Regions from separate parts of the Homo sapiens genome. Here all the other regions are linked to region 4. Evidence: promoter capture Hi-C in 16 types of primary human blood cells and fetal thymus (Javierre and others, 2016). All regions are on one chromosome and are shown on one strand. The core of a region is centred on a gene start or on the middle of the fragment in contact, and the rest is flanking DNA. Distances in the headings are between cores, read along the strand shown. Region 1 has its middle 2.8 kb from the start of CYTH4. Region 2 has its middle 5.9 kb from the start of RAC2. Region 3 holds the start of SSTR3 (somatostatin receptor 3). Region 4 holds the start of ELFN2 (extracellular leucine rich repeat and fibronectin type III domain containing 2).

The links. The method cuts DNA at HindIII sites, captures the fragments that hold promoters and counts their contacts. A CHiCAGO score of 5 or more calls a contact.
Region 1: a contact is called between a fragment that was not itself captured here and the fragment with the promoter of ELFN2 in region 4, in 9 of 17 cell types (naive CD4 T cells, endothelial precursors, non-activated CD4 T cells and 6 more). The highest score is 9.6, in naive CD4 T cells.
Region 2: a fragment that was not itself captured here is called in contact with the fragment with the promoter of ELFN2 in region 4 in 4 of 17 cell types (naive CD4 T cells, total CD8 T cells, fetal thymus and 1 more); the score reaches 6.4 in naive CD4 T cells.
Region 3: the fragment with the promoter of SSTR3 here is called in contact with the fragment with the promoter of ELFN2 in region 4 in 14 of 17 cell types (neutrophils, monocytes, total CD8 T cells and 11 more); the score reaches 18.7 in neutrophils.

What each region holds. Positions count from the first base shown.
Region 1 is chr22:37,278,358-37,281,057 of GRCh38, reverse strand. No RefSeq gene overlaps it. Among named protein-coding and RNA genes, the nearest start is that of CYTH4, 2.8 kb to the left of the region's middle. The HindIII fragment of the contact is 2,466 bases long and covers 160-2,625 here.
Region 2 is chr22:37,248,810-37,251,509 of GRCh38, reverse strand. No RefSeq gene overlaps it. Among named protein-coding and RNA genes, the nearest start is that of RAC2, 5.9 kb to the right of the region's middle. The HindIII fragment of the contact is 4,143 bases long and covers 1-2,700 here.
Region 3 is chr22:37,211,121-37,213,820 of GRCh38, reverse strand. It overlaps SSTR3 (somatostatin receptor 3), which reads left to right and starts at 1,344. Exons shown (of 2, transcript NM_001051.5): 1 at 1,344-1,996. RefSeq lists an enhancer at 1,526-2,505. The HindIII fragment of the contact is 10,151 bases long and covers 1-1,702 here.
Region 4 is chr22:37,426,146-37,428,845 of GRCh38, reverse strand. It overlaps ELFN2 (extracellular leucine rich repeat and fibronectin type III domain containing 2), which reads left to right and starts at 1,367. Exons shown (of 3, transcript NM_052906.5): 1 at 1,367-1,548. The HindIII fragment of the contact is 18,273 bases long and covers 1-2,700 here.

The sequences.
Region 1 (2,700 bases), core at 143-2,642, 150 kb after region 4:
CCCTGGTTGCTGCCTCATCAGTGAGGCCAGGGGACACCAGAAGAAGAACCATCAAGCGGAGTCCCACCCAAACTGCTGACCCATAGCACTGTGGGAAATAATACATTTTTGTGGTTTAAGCCACCAACTTCTGGGATGCTTTGTTATGCAGCCAAAGCTTGCTGATACAGAAGAAATCCAATGCTGTCATTTCCTCGGAGAGAAAACTGAGGCTTATTTCTGGGAAACACTTGACCAAGTTGGAACTTGAGTGAGTGCCAATTCAGGCCCAGAAGCCAGGCCTACTAAGTCCCCGTCTAGTGTGCTCAGGATTTTTGAACCCCGCTGCTTCTCCCCTGCCCTGCCTCCACCTGGGTTCTTGTATAACTCATGGTTCTTTTCTGGAAAACTTGTTACAATTATTTCCATGGTAAACTAGATTTTTCTCAACTGCTTTGGGCCTGAGGCACCACAAACCATGCCCTTGGCCATTTTAAAACTAGAAATGTGGGCTGGGCATAGTGGCTCATGCCTGTAATCCCAGCACTTTGGGAGGCCGAGGCGGGTGGATCACAAGGTCAGGAGATCAAGACCATCCTGGCCAACGTGGTGAAACCCCGTCTATACTAAAAATACAAAAATTAGCTGGGCATGGTGGCGGGTGCCTATAATGCCAGCTACTTGGGAGGCTGAAGCGGGAGAATCACTTGAACCAGAGAGTCGGAGGTTGCAGTGAGCTGAGATCGCGCCACTGCACTCCAGCCTGGCAACAGAGTGAGACTCCGTCTCCAAAAACAAAACAAAAGAAAAAACAAAACAAACAAAATAACCCCTAGAAATATGGAGAAAGGTATATATAATTCCCTGTGCAGAAAGACTTCACACTGCAGGCCGGAGACTGCTATCTTTAGAAAGTCATGCTTGCAAAGTTGACCCTTGGCTGGCACCTGGGAGCTTGGATTTGGGGAGGGCTCCCACCACCCTAACTGATGAGAGTGGCTTACTGGGCCTAACCTATTTGCCTAGCGTCCCTGGCAGCATCCCATCTCACAGGTGCTTTCACGACTTGTTGCTGGAGGAATTGAGCGTGTCCCGTGTGACTCTTTTGGGAGCAGACTCTTGGAAGCTGCCCCTGGTTTCCTCTGGACTTCGCCACGGCGCCTTTGCGGATTCTGCTTTGAGTCCTTTCACTGCCATAGATCATAGCCGTAAGTATGACCATGAGCTGAGTCCTGGGAGTCCACCTAGTAAACCACTGAACCTGGGATGGCCTTGGGGAAGGCTGCCTGATCTTGCGGCTGATCCAGTAAATGTGTCTTGACCAGGCCACGGTTTGGCATCTGACACTTCCCTTTTGTCTGATGGATGGTCACGGTTGTGTGGTTCAGCTATTGTTACTGTCTTATTCTCTAAGACATACCTCAAATACCACCTCCTCTGTGAGGTCCGTTGTGATGACACCTCCCCTCCCTCTTTCCCACAACGCTGGTCATGTTTAACGGCTTATATGCAGACAGCCTGGGAGGGAGGGACTCTTTCACTGTGAGCAGCAAAGAGTTTAGCAGAACTGACTTCATCATTTTCTCCGTCACTCCTTGTCCAGGTTTGGCTGCAAGATTTGCTGGGAACCAATAGCACAGGCAATGAGGAGAGCAGGAAGCTGGACCCAGGGGAGTCACAGAGAACTGGATTTGAATCCTGACTCAGCTCTTGTGAGCTGTGTGATCTTCTTCCTTCCCCTCCGAGCCTCATTTTTAATCATTTAAAATCATCTACAAAATGGAGACAGTTCAGGTTAGGTTTGCCTACATGAAACAGAAAACCCAAATAATAATAATGGTTTAAAGAAACTAGAGGTTTATTGATCTCTTACAAGAAAGAAACCTGAAGTGGGCAACACATGGCTGCCCTGTAGCAGCCTGGGCATGGATCCAGGATCCTTCTAACTTTCGGCTGCTGTCCTCAAATTCTCTTCATGGTCCAAAGTGGCTGCTTGATCTCCAGCTATCATGTCTAAATTCCAGGTAGGAGGAAGGATGAAAACGGGAAGGAATCCCCTTAAAACTTTCTGGCCTGAGATCAGTCCTTCTGCGCTACATCAGGCTCTGGTTCCCACCTGTGTACCAGGCAGGGGATCCGCAGTTGGTTCTGGGACAACAAATGAGAGTCTCCAAACACGAGATCTGGGAGGTCCTAAAAAAACCATCACTGCTATTTCTGGAGTGCCTGCTATGGAGTGCCAGACACTGTGCTAAGTGCTTGTCATCTCATTTAACCCTTTCCACCATTCAACAAATTACATTATTACAACCCCTCTTTCATAGATGAGGGAACTGAGTTCAGAGAGGTTAAATCACTTGCCCAAGGTCACGCAGCCAGGAGAAAGCAAAGTTCAGATTCAAGCCCTGAACTGTCTGACTTCAGATCCCCACACTCAGCTTGTACAAGCGTCACTTTAAACATTTCAGAAGTTCACCGACCTGCCCTCCCCACTCCCTGCACTTCCTTTGAGGGAGAGATAGGAAGGGTCTAGCATCTGAATCAAATAATAGCAAAACCATCTGGGTAACATCTTCTGTTTGTCCAAAAGCTCAGAATTCCTCACGTGATGCCAATGGCCCAAGGGCGAGAGAGATGGAAGAAGCTTAGAGGAGGTCTGATTCCATGGCCTCATCTTACAGATGGGAAACGGAGGCTGGGAGAGGGAAGGGACTTAACAGA
Region 2 (2,700 bases), core at 39-2,538, 180 kb after region 4:
CACGAGGCCCCCCCAGAAGCAGATGCCACCATGCTTCCTGTGCGGCCTGTGATACTGTGAGCCAGTTCAACCTCTTTTTCTTAGTAAATTACCCATTCCCAGATATTTCTTTATAGCAGTGGAACTGTGAGATGCGAGATGGCTTGACCACAGCTTACTGGGCAAAAAGCAGGCAGAGCTACTCAATAAATGGTTCTGGAACAATCAGTCATGGAGATAATGATGTTAAATACATATCACACAGGCCAGGTGCGGTGGCTCACGCCTGTAATCCCAGCACTCTGGGAGGCCGAGGCGGGCAGATCACCAGAGGTTGGGAGTTCGAGATCAGCCTGGCTAACATGGTGAAGCCCCATCTCTACTAAATATACAAAATTAGCTGGGTGTGGTGGTGCGTGCCTGTAATCCCAGCTACTTGGGAGGCTGAGGCAGGAGAACCGCTTGAGCCCCGTAGGCAGAGGTTGCAGTGAGCTGGGATCATGCCACTGCACTCCAGCCTGGGTGACAGAGTGAGACTCAGTCTCCAAAAATAAAATAAAATACAATAATAAAAAAATACATATCACACAAAAACTAAAAACAGTCAATAATCTCACCACACCCTAAATTCCGTCTGAAGTGTGTAAAGACCTACTCATATTTATTTTCTTTTTTCTTTCTTGAGACAGGGTCTCACTCTGTTGCCCAGGCTGGAGTACAGTGGTATGATCATGGCTCACTGCAGCCTCGACCTCCCAGGCTCAAGCGACCTGCCCACCTTAGCCTCCTGAGTAGCTAGGACTACAGGCATGCACCAACACATCTGGCTAATTTTTGTATTTTTTGTAGAGATGGGGTTTCACCATATTACCCAAGATGGTTTCAAACTCCTGGGCTCAAGTGATCTATGTGCCTTCATCTCCCAAAGTGCTGGGATTGCAGGCATGAGCCACTGCACCTGACAAGACCTGTTTATGAAAAGCAAAACTTTAAAAGAAAATGAGGATATTCGTCTTCATGAAATTGGGGGAAGGAAAGGAATTTTTAAGTAAGATTCACTCCAAAAAACACAAGTCATTATGATGCAGGGCAGGTGAGCCTCCAAATTGGGGCTTAGCTTTGGAAGGTTCTTGGGTTCTCTCAGGAAGGAATTCCGTGCTGAGCTGACGGTGGAAGAAAACAGCTTTATGGAGGTGGCAGTGTTACAGCTGCGCGAGTGCCCCTGCAGAGTAGGGCTACCTGACGGGCAGTGTACTGAGAGCAGCAGCTCAGGGGCAGTTCCACCGTCATATTTATACCCACTTTTAGTCACATGCAAATTAAGGGGTGGGGTATTTAGAACTTTCTAGAAAAAGGGTGGTAGTTTCCGGGCTGTTGCTATGGAAAGGGGTGGTAACGTCCGGGTGTTGCCATGGCAATGGTAAACTGACATGGCGCTGCTGGGCATGTCTCATGAAGAGGTGCTTTCGCCTCGTCCCCATTTCTGCTAGTCCTCAGTCTGGTCTTGAGTCAAACCCTGCCTCCTACCTCAATTAGGAGAGAAAGTGGAAATTTGACTACATGCAGATAAAAATTGTGTCTATTAAATGTCACAACATATTAAAAGACATCCCACGGACTGGAAGAAAGTATGAAATGCCTCTAGCAATTCAAATGAAAATCAGAATATGCAAAGAGCTTCTCCAAATAAATGTAAGAGAAGGATAAATACTGGGCCTGGCACAGTGGCTCACGCCTGTAATCCCAGCACTACCTGGGAGGCAGAAGTGGGTGGATCACCTGAGGTCAGGAGTTTGAGACCAGCCTGGCCAACATGGTGAAACCCCATCTCTACTAAAAATACAAAAATTAGCCGGGCATGGTGGCGTGTATCTTTAATCATCGCTACTCAAGAGGCTGAGGCAGAAGAATCGCTTGAACCTGGGAGGCGGAGGTTGCAGTGAGCCGAGATCACGACATTGCACTCCAGCCTGGGCAACAAGAGTGAAACTCCATCTCAAAAAATAAAATAATAAAATAAAATAAATAAAATAAAATAGATAAATGCTCCAATAGAGAAATGGAGAAAAGTGAAGAAAAAGCAATTTATGGAACAGGAAACACAAGGTCCAGTAATCACTTACAATGATGCTTAATACCACTGGGAATCAGTTAATATAAATTAAAACCTCAGTGAGATGCCAATTCACACCCATCTAGCTGGCAAAAGTATGAAGTCTTACAGGCCAAGCATGGGCTGGGAGTAGACGAGGAGGCCCCTGGAGATGGGCGTAGCACTGTCCGTTGAAGTGCAAGATATGTGTGTGTATGCTAAACCTCACACACCAGCCCAGGAGCACATGGATGTTCACAGCAGAATCGTTTGTAGTGCAAACATTGCAAGCCACTTACAAATCCTGGCCCGGGAGATGTAGGCTGCAGTGAGCCATGATTGCACTCCAGCCTGGGCAACAGAGTGAGACCCTGTCTCAAAAAAGGAAAAACGAAATAAATATGAGTAGGTCTTTACACACTTTGGACAGAATTTAGGGTGTGGCGATATATTGACTGTTTTTAGTTTTTGTGTGATATGTATTTAATGTCATTATCTGCATGAATTGGATAAATAACATTTCAATACATTCATATACTGGAATATTTACCAGAAAAATAACTAAACTGGAACTCTAAGTTGAACATTTCCCAGCACACTGCTGGGTGGGACTGTGCCTCCCAAATTCG
Region 3 (2,700 bases), core at 95-2,594, 220 kb after region 4:
AGGAATCAAGGATGCAGTGCCAGGTGGGCTGCGGCGAGAGAGCTTTATTCTGAGGGCAGTGAGAAGCCGTGGGTAGGGGTGGGTGGTCAGTGCCATGGAAAACCCACCCTTGACCCTGAGGACACGCTCCCAGGAGCCCACCCACACCTCATGAACTTGTACGGACAAGGACAATGGGAGGCTGAGACCTGGAGCAAGGGCCTTGTCCCGGGCACAAGGCAAAGGGACGGGCAGCGTTAAGAGACCAGGCCGGCTCCGGCTGGAAGTGGGTGTGTCCTACTGTGTGCTGCCGCATGCATGGTGGCACCTCTGGATGCATTCAACTTCCAGTTCTCTGCAGTGCCAGGTACCTAGTGACAAAGGAGGTCCAGCCCTGGTCCCAGGGAATGGCCCAGTTTGGAAAGCAGCCTAGGTACAGCCTGGCACATAGTAGGTGCTCAGCCAAGACGTGTGTCCTTTTCCCTTCCGTCTCTGACTGTTCCTTTCCTTATCACTCCTGTGCTGAGGCAGGAATCAGCACAGGCAGGGGCACGGCATCCCAAGACATCTGGGCCTGTGCTCAGGACTGTACGGCAGAGTCTCTTAGACCAAAGATCAGTAAATATGGCCCACGGGGCAAATCCCACCCACTGCCTGTTTTTGTACAGCCTAGGAGCTGAGAATGGTTTTTACGGATGAACATTTGCAATCGGTTTGATGAAACACTAACTCTAAACTCCAATTAAGCAAAAGGTGATGTCTGTAAAAAGAACTCTATTCTTCTCATGAGTGGACCTACATTACAAAATACTGGCCTCAATTATTATTATTCTATTTTGAGTTTTGTCAGTTACAAAATAGTAAAAATCTGTTTTCTCACTGCACAATGATTTTGCCCTCAAAGCCTAAAATATTGGTTCTCTGTTCTGTCCTTCCACTCCTCACCCTGCCTGGGGCTCTCCAGATGTAACCAATCCCAGGACTAATGACCCCCACCCGGCCTCCCCAGTGGTCCGTGCTGCGGCCGGTGTGCCCGACTGCAGGGCTGGACTGTGGACTCCCGGGCTGGCCAGCCCCACACCCAGCCTTGCCTTGGGACACAGCTGCTGCCCCGGGGGACCTGTGCCGCAGTGGCCTCACGAGCTGCTCTGGCTACTGGCTGGCAGCCTCGGCTCCCCTGAGCACTGAGCACATTCTTCTCTCCAACTCCCTGCAGGAGCCAAGGCCAGCGGGCGTGGGTGGCTGAAATCTCCCCGGTAACAGGGTCTGCGCCCCTCCTGCTCCCTCTCCGGGCCTCCTCCCTTAACCTGCACCCCGCCCCCACCCCCCACACCTGCTCTCCGGCCCTCAGCCCCTCCCTGCTTACTCCCTCCTTCACGGGCTCCATGTCACCATCTGTGGCACAGTCCCTCTCTGTCACTCTCCCTGCCACCCCCTCATTCTCCTTCCTCCCTCCTGCCTCTCTCTGCATCTCTCCCTCTCACCCGTGTCTCCTCTCCTCTCTTTCCTTCTCGTCTTCTCCCTGTCACGCATCTCTCATCACTCCCCCTCATTCTGCCTTTCCTCCTACTCACGGTCTCCTCTCCCTCTCCCTCTCTCTCTCTCCCCCTCCCTCTTTCTCTCTCTCTCTCTTTCTCCACCTCCTCCCGACCCCCTTTCCCCTCTATTTCTATTGGCTTCTGTGTCCCTTGCTCCCCTCTTCTCTTCCTCACCCTGGGAAGCTTCTCCCCCCTATCCTTGCCCCTGCCCCCCCAGGATGTGTCCTGGAGATGGGGGGTGACGTACCAGGCTCTGGTTGGGAAGTCAGGGCCGGAGACCAGATGGGAGAGGCTCTGTGGACAGCCGTGGCCGAGGGCCTGGGAGGGAACCTGAGCCCGCAAGCGGTCTAGAAGTGGGTGCCTTGTGGGGACCCTAGTTAGGAGTGCCCTGGGGGCACCTGGGGACTGGGCAGGGAGAGGGGACAGCAGAATGATAACCAGCCTGGCGGCAAGGAGGGAAGCCCTCACCCCATGGGCAGGTAAGGAGGCTGGGGCCCGGATGATGTCCCGAAGGGTGGGGTCCTGGAAGCCCATCCTCTGCCCAGGATGAACTTGGGAGGCTGGGGCTGGGGAGGCAGAGGGTGGGGACTCCCAGGGAGGCAGGAGGGAGGCCTTCCTGTGACCTCCCGGTCGGCTGCAGGGGCAGGGGCGTTAGTCTCAGAATCTCGTGCCATGATTCTAGGATCTCGGAATCACAGAATCGCAGGCTGTCAGGGCTGGAGGGAGCCAGATGTATCATGTCGTTGGCTTCCCCAGCTCACGTGGCAGCTCTCCTGAGCTCCCCCTCCATACCCGGCACTGTGCTTGGCACGCCTCCGTTTAATCTCTGCAAACAACCCTGGGAGGTGGGTCCGCTTGTCTTCCATATGACGAAACTGAGGTGCAGCGGGGAGAAGTGACTTGCCCGAGGTCACACAGCAATTTGGCATCATCGCTGTGCAGCAGAGCCCAAGCCCCCAGCGCTGGGCCTGTAGGGTGTGCTCCTGGGATCAGGCCCCAGGCCTGGGGTGCCAGTGAGTCAGTCGGCACTGGCAAGCATAAGCCAGGTGTCTTTGGGGGGAAGGCCGAAGCATGTAGAGGACAAGCAGAGAGCCAGGGGCCATCGCCCTGCACTATTCAGGACTGTCATGGCCTTTGATCCTTCTCAGCCTGAGGCCTTCAGAGGAGCCAGTGTGGCCAGGAG
Region 4 (2,700 bases), core at 118-2,617:
CCTGTTCTTAGTTGAAAGGAGGGAGGAATTTCTGGACAGACGTTCTTTCTGCTCTACTAATACCCAACTCCGTGGAGTTCCCTGTACACACATACAAAGCTGTTTCATGCCTCTGTGCCTCTTTGCACATGCTGTTCCCAGAGTCCAGGACACCCTTCTCCTCCTTCTTTAGCTGGCCAACTCCTACTCATCCATCAAGATTCAGCTCAGGCAGTGGCTTCTTCTGGGGAGTCTCCTTATTCCAGACCTGCATGAGATGTCCCGACGGGGAGTTCCCGCAGCCTGGACTTCATCTGCTGTGCAACACCTGAGAACAGGCGCTGGTGCATGCGGTCCTATAAAAGTGATGGAGAAGTACAGGGCCTGCTGGCAGCAGGCCTCCGACATGCAGCTCGCAGGGCCTCGGGAGGAGGTGCTTGCATGCCCAAGCACCAAGTTATAGGCCCCGGGTGCCAGGCTTCTTGCATCTTCCACCTCCTCCTCCTCCTCCCAGCATCCACCCCTTTGCAGGTGGCAGCAGGTGGCAGGGGCTTTGGCGTAAGGGGCGGGGAACTGGGCCTCTGGAAGGCTAATGAAGGTTCTCTAGCTACAGATGAGCCCAGTATCCCTTGGACCTACTCCTGGAGGGGTGGGGAAAGGCAGTGAGTGCCCTGGCACAAGGTAGGGGAGCGTAAAGTCTAATACTGTCTGTAGGCTCCCTGTGTAACCTTGGGGGAATCACTCCTCTCCGAACCTCAGTTGTCTGGCCTGTAAAATGGGAACGCAGCAGCCGCACTTCCCCAGTCGCCAGCGGTTGAACGCGGGACCAACCAGCAGGGCGCAGGCGGCAGGGCATGGAGGTACAAGGCGGAGAGGGGGCCCATCAGCGGAGGCGGAGTCCAGGGGGAGGGCGAGTCCAGGCGCACTTCGGGCGGCCCCGCCGCAAGTTTGCCCCCAGCTGTTGAATGCGCTGGCGGAGGCCGGACCCGGACCCGGACCCGGATCCCGCGGGGTGAGCAGCGCAGGGGGCCGCGGCCGGGACAGGGGTCCGCCAGGCCGGGGCTCGGGTCCGTGGGGCCGCCTTCGCCTCCCCGGGCGCTGCAGCTGCAGCGGCGGCGCCAGGCGCGGCCCCAGCCCCGCGGGCGTGTGTCTGCGAGCGCGCGTGTGTCCGTGGAGCGTGCGGCCGGCTCGGGGGCGGGAGCGGGCTTGCTGCGGAAAGGCCTGCGGAGGGCACCGGGAGCGGGCGGGCTGGCGGACGGACAGACGGGGACGGACAGACGGACACAGCCTGCCGCGGTCCCTGACGCGCGCCGCTTGGCCCCTCCCGGGCGCCCTCCCCGCCGAGGCAGGGGCAGAGGCGCGGCGGCGGGGAGGAGGGGGCGGCGGCGTCTGCGCGCACACGCGCGCTCCCAGACACACACACAGACACACGCGGGCCACCCCACGGCCACGCACCCCGCACCCACACCCGCGCTCACACTCACATTCACACTCACACTCACACGCGCAGGCCCCGCGGCCGCCGCTTCCCGGAGGCGGTGCTTGGCCCGGATCCCGGCTGGGGCTGGGGTAAGTGAATTCCTCTGGATCCGAGCGCCGCGACCGACCGACCGGGGAGACGGTGGGAGTCGGGGCTGGAGCCGGAGGGCACCCCCTCCGTCAGTGGGGGTGGGGCTTGGAGAGGGACACGGAAGGGGGGATGAGACGGGGAGAGCCACCCCCAGTGTCTCCTGGGTCTGGGGATCCCCGTGAGACCCCCGGGGGACCACCCTGCGCGAGGGAGGTGGTGGTGGTGGCGGTGGGCGGAGGCGGTGGGAGGACACCGAGGACGGTCGGTGAGGTGAGCGTTTCTGGGGGTGGTGCAGAGGCTCGATGGTGGACGGTGTGCCAGCCGGTGCCACACTGCACCTCTCTGCCCTCATCTTTTCGAATCGGGGGCCCTAACCCCTCTCTTTCACGGGGTGCTGCCGGGTCAAGGCATTCATCCTCTAGCTGGTAAGAGGGGTTGACGGGGTGGATGCCTTCTAGGGGAAGGGGGGCCAGGGTGGGGCTTGACGGCGGTGGGGTTGGTAAGACCAGAATTGGGGGGTGGGGACCCTTTCAGAGGCGCTGGCCAGGGACAAGGAGGGAGGCAGCCCAGGGAGGCGGCATAAATCGCAGACACTGCAGCTCTGGCAGGGCCGGGGCCACTGCCGGGTGTGTGTGTGTGTGTGTGTTTGTGTGTGTGTGCGAGCGCGTGCCAGTGTGTGTGTGTGCGTGCGTGTGTGGGCTCCAGCAGCTGTCAGGGGACGGGGAGGGGGTGGGTGTGTTGGCTGGTGGGGCGCCGTGTGCATGTGGAGAGGATTGTGCGTGCTGTGTGTGTGTGGTGTGTGCGTGTGTGTGTGGACATGGGGTGGACCCTGCTCTCTGTCTGTATACACACAAGCGCACACACGCACACTGTCAGTGGCCTGGCAGGATTTCCTCGGAATGTTTGGAGGGAAGGGAGCTGATGTGTGTGTGTGTGTGTGCGCGCGCGCGCGTGTGCATGCACACTCGGGGAGCTTGTGTCCAAAACAGAGGCCACAGGCCATGGTGTGTCAGGCGTGCCCAAGGAGGGAGACGAGAAGGGGACAGTGGTGCTGACCGTGCACTCAGCTGGGGAGGAACGTGGTACTCGGCACTTTCTGCAGCTCAGGGCTCTGTGCTGTGCCCCTTCCCCCTGGACTCCTCCCACCCAGC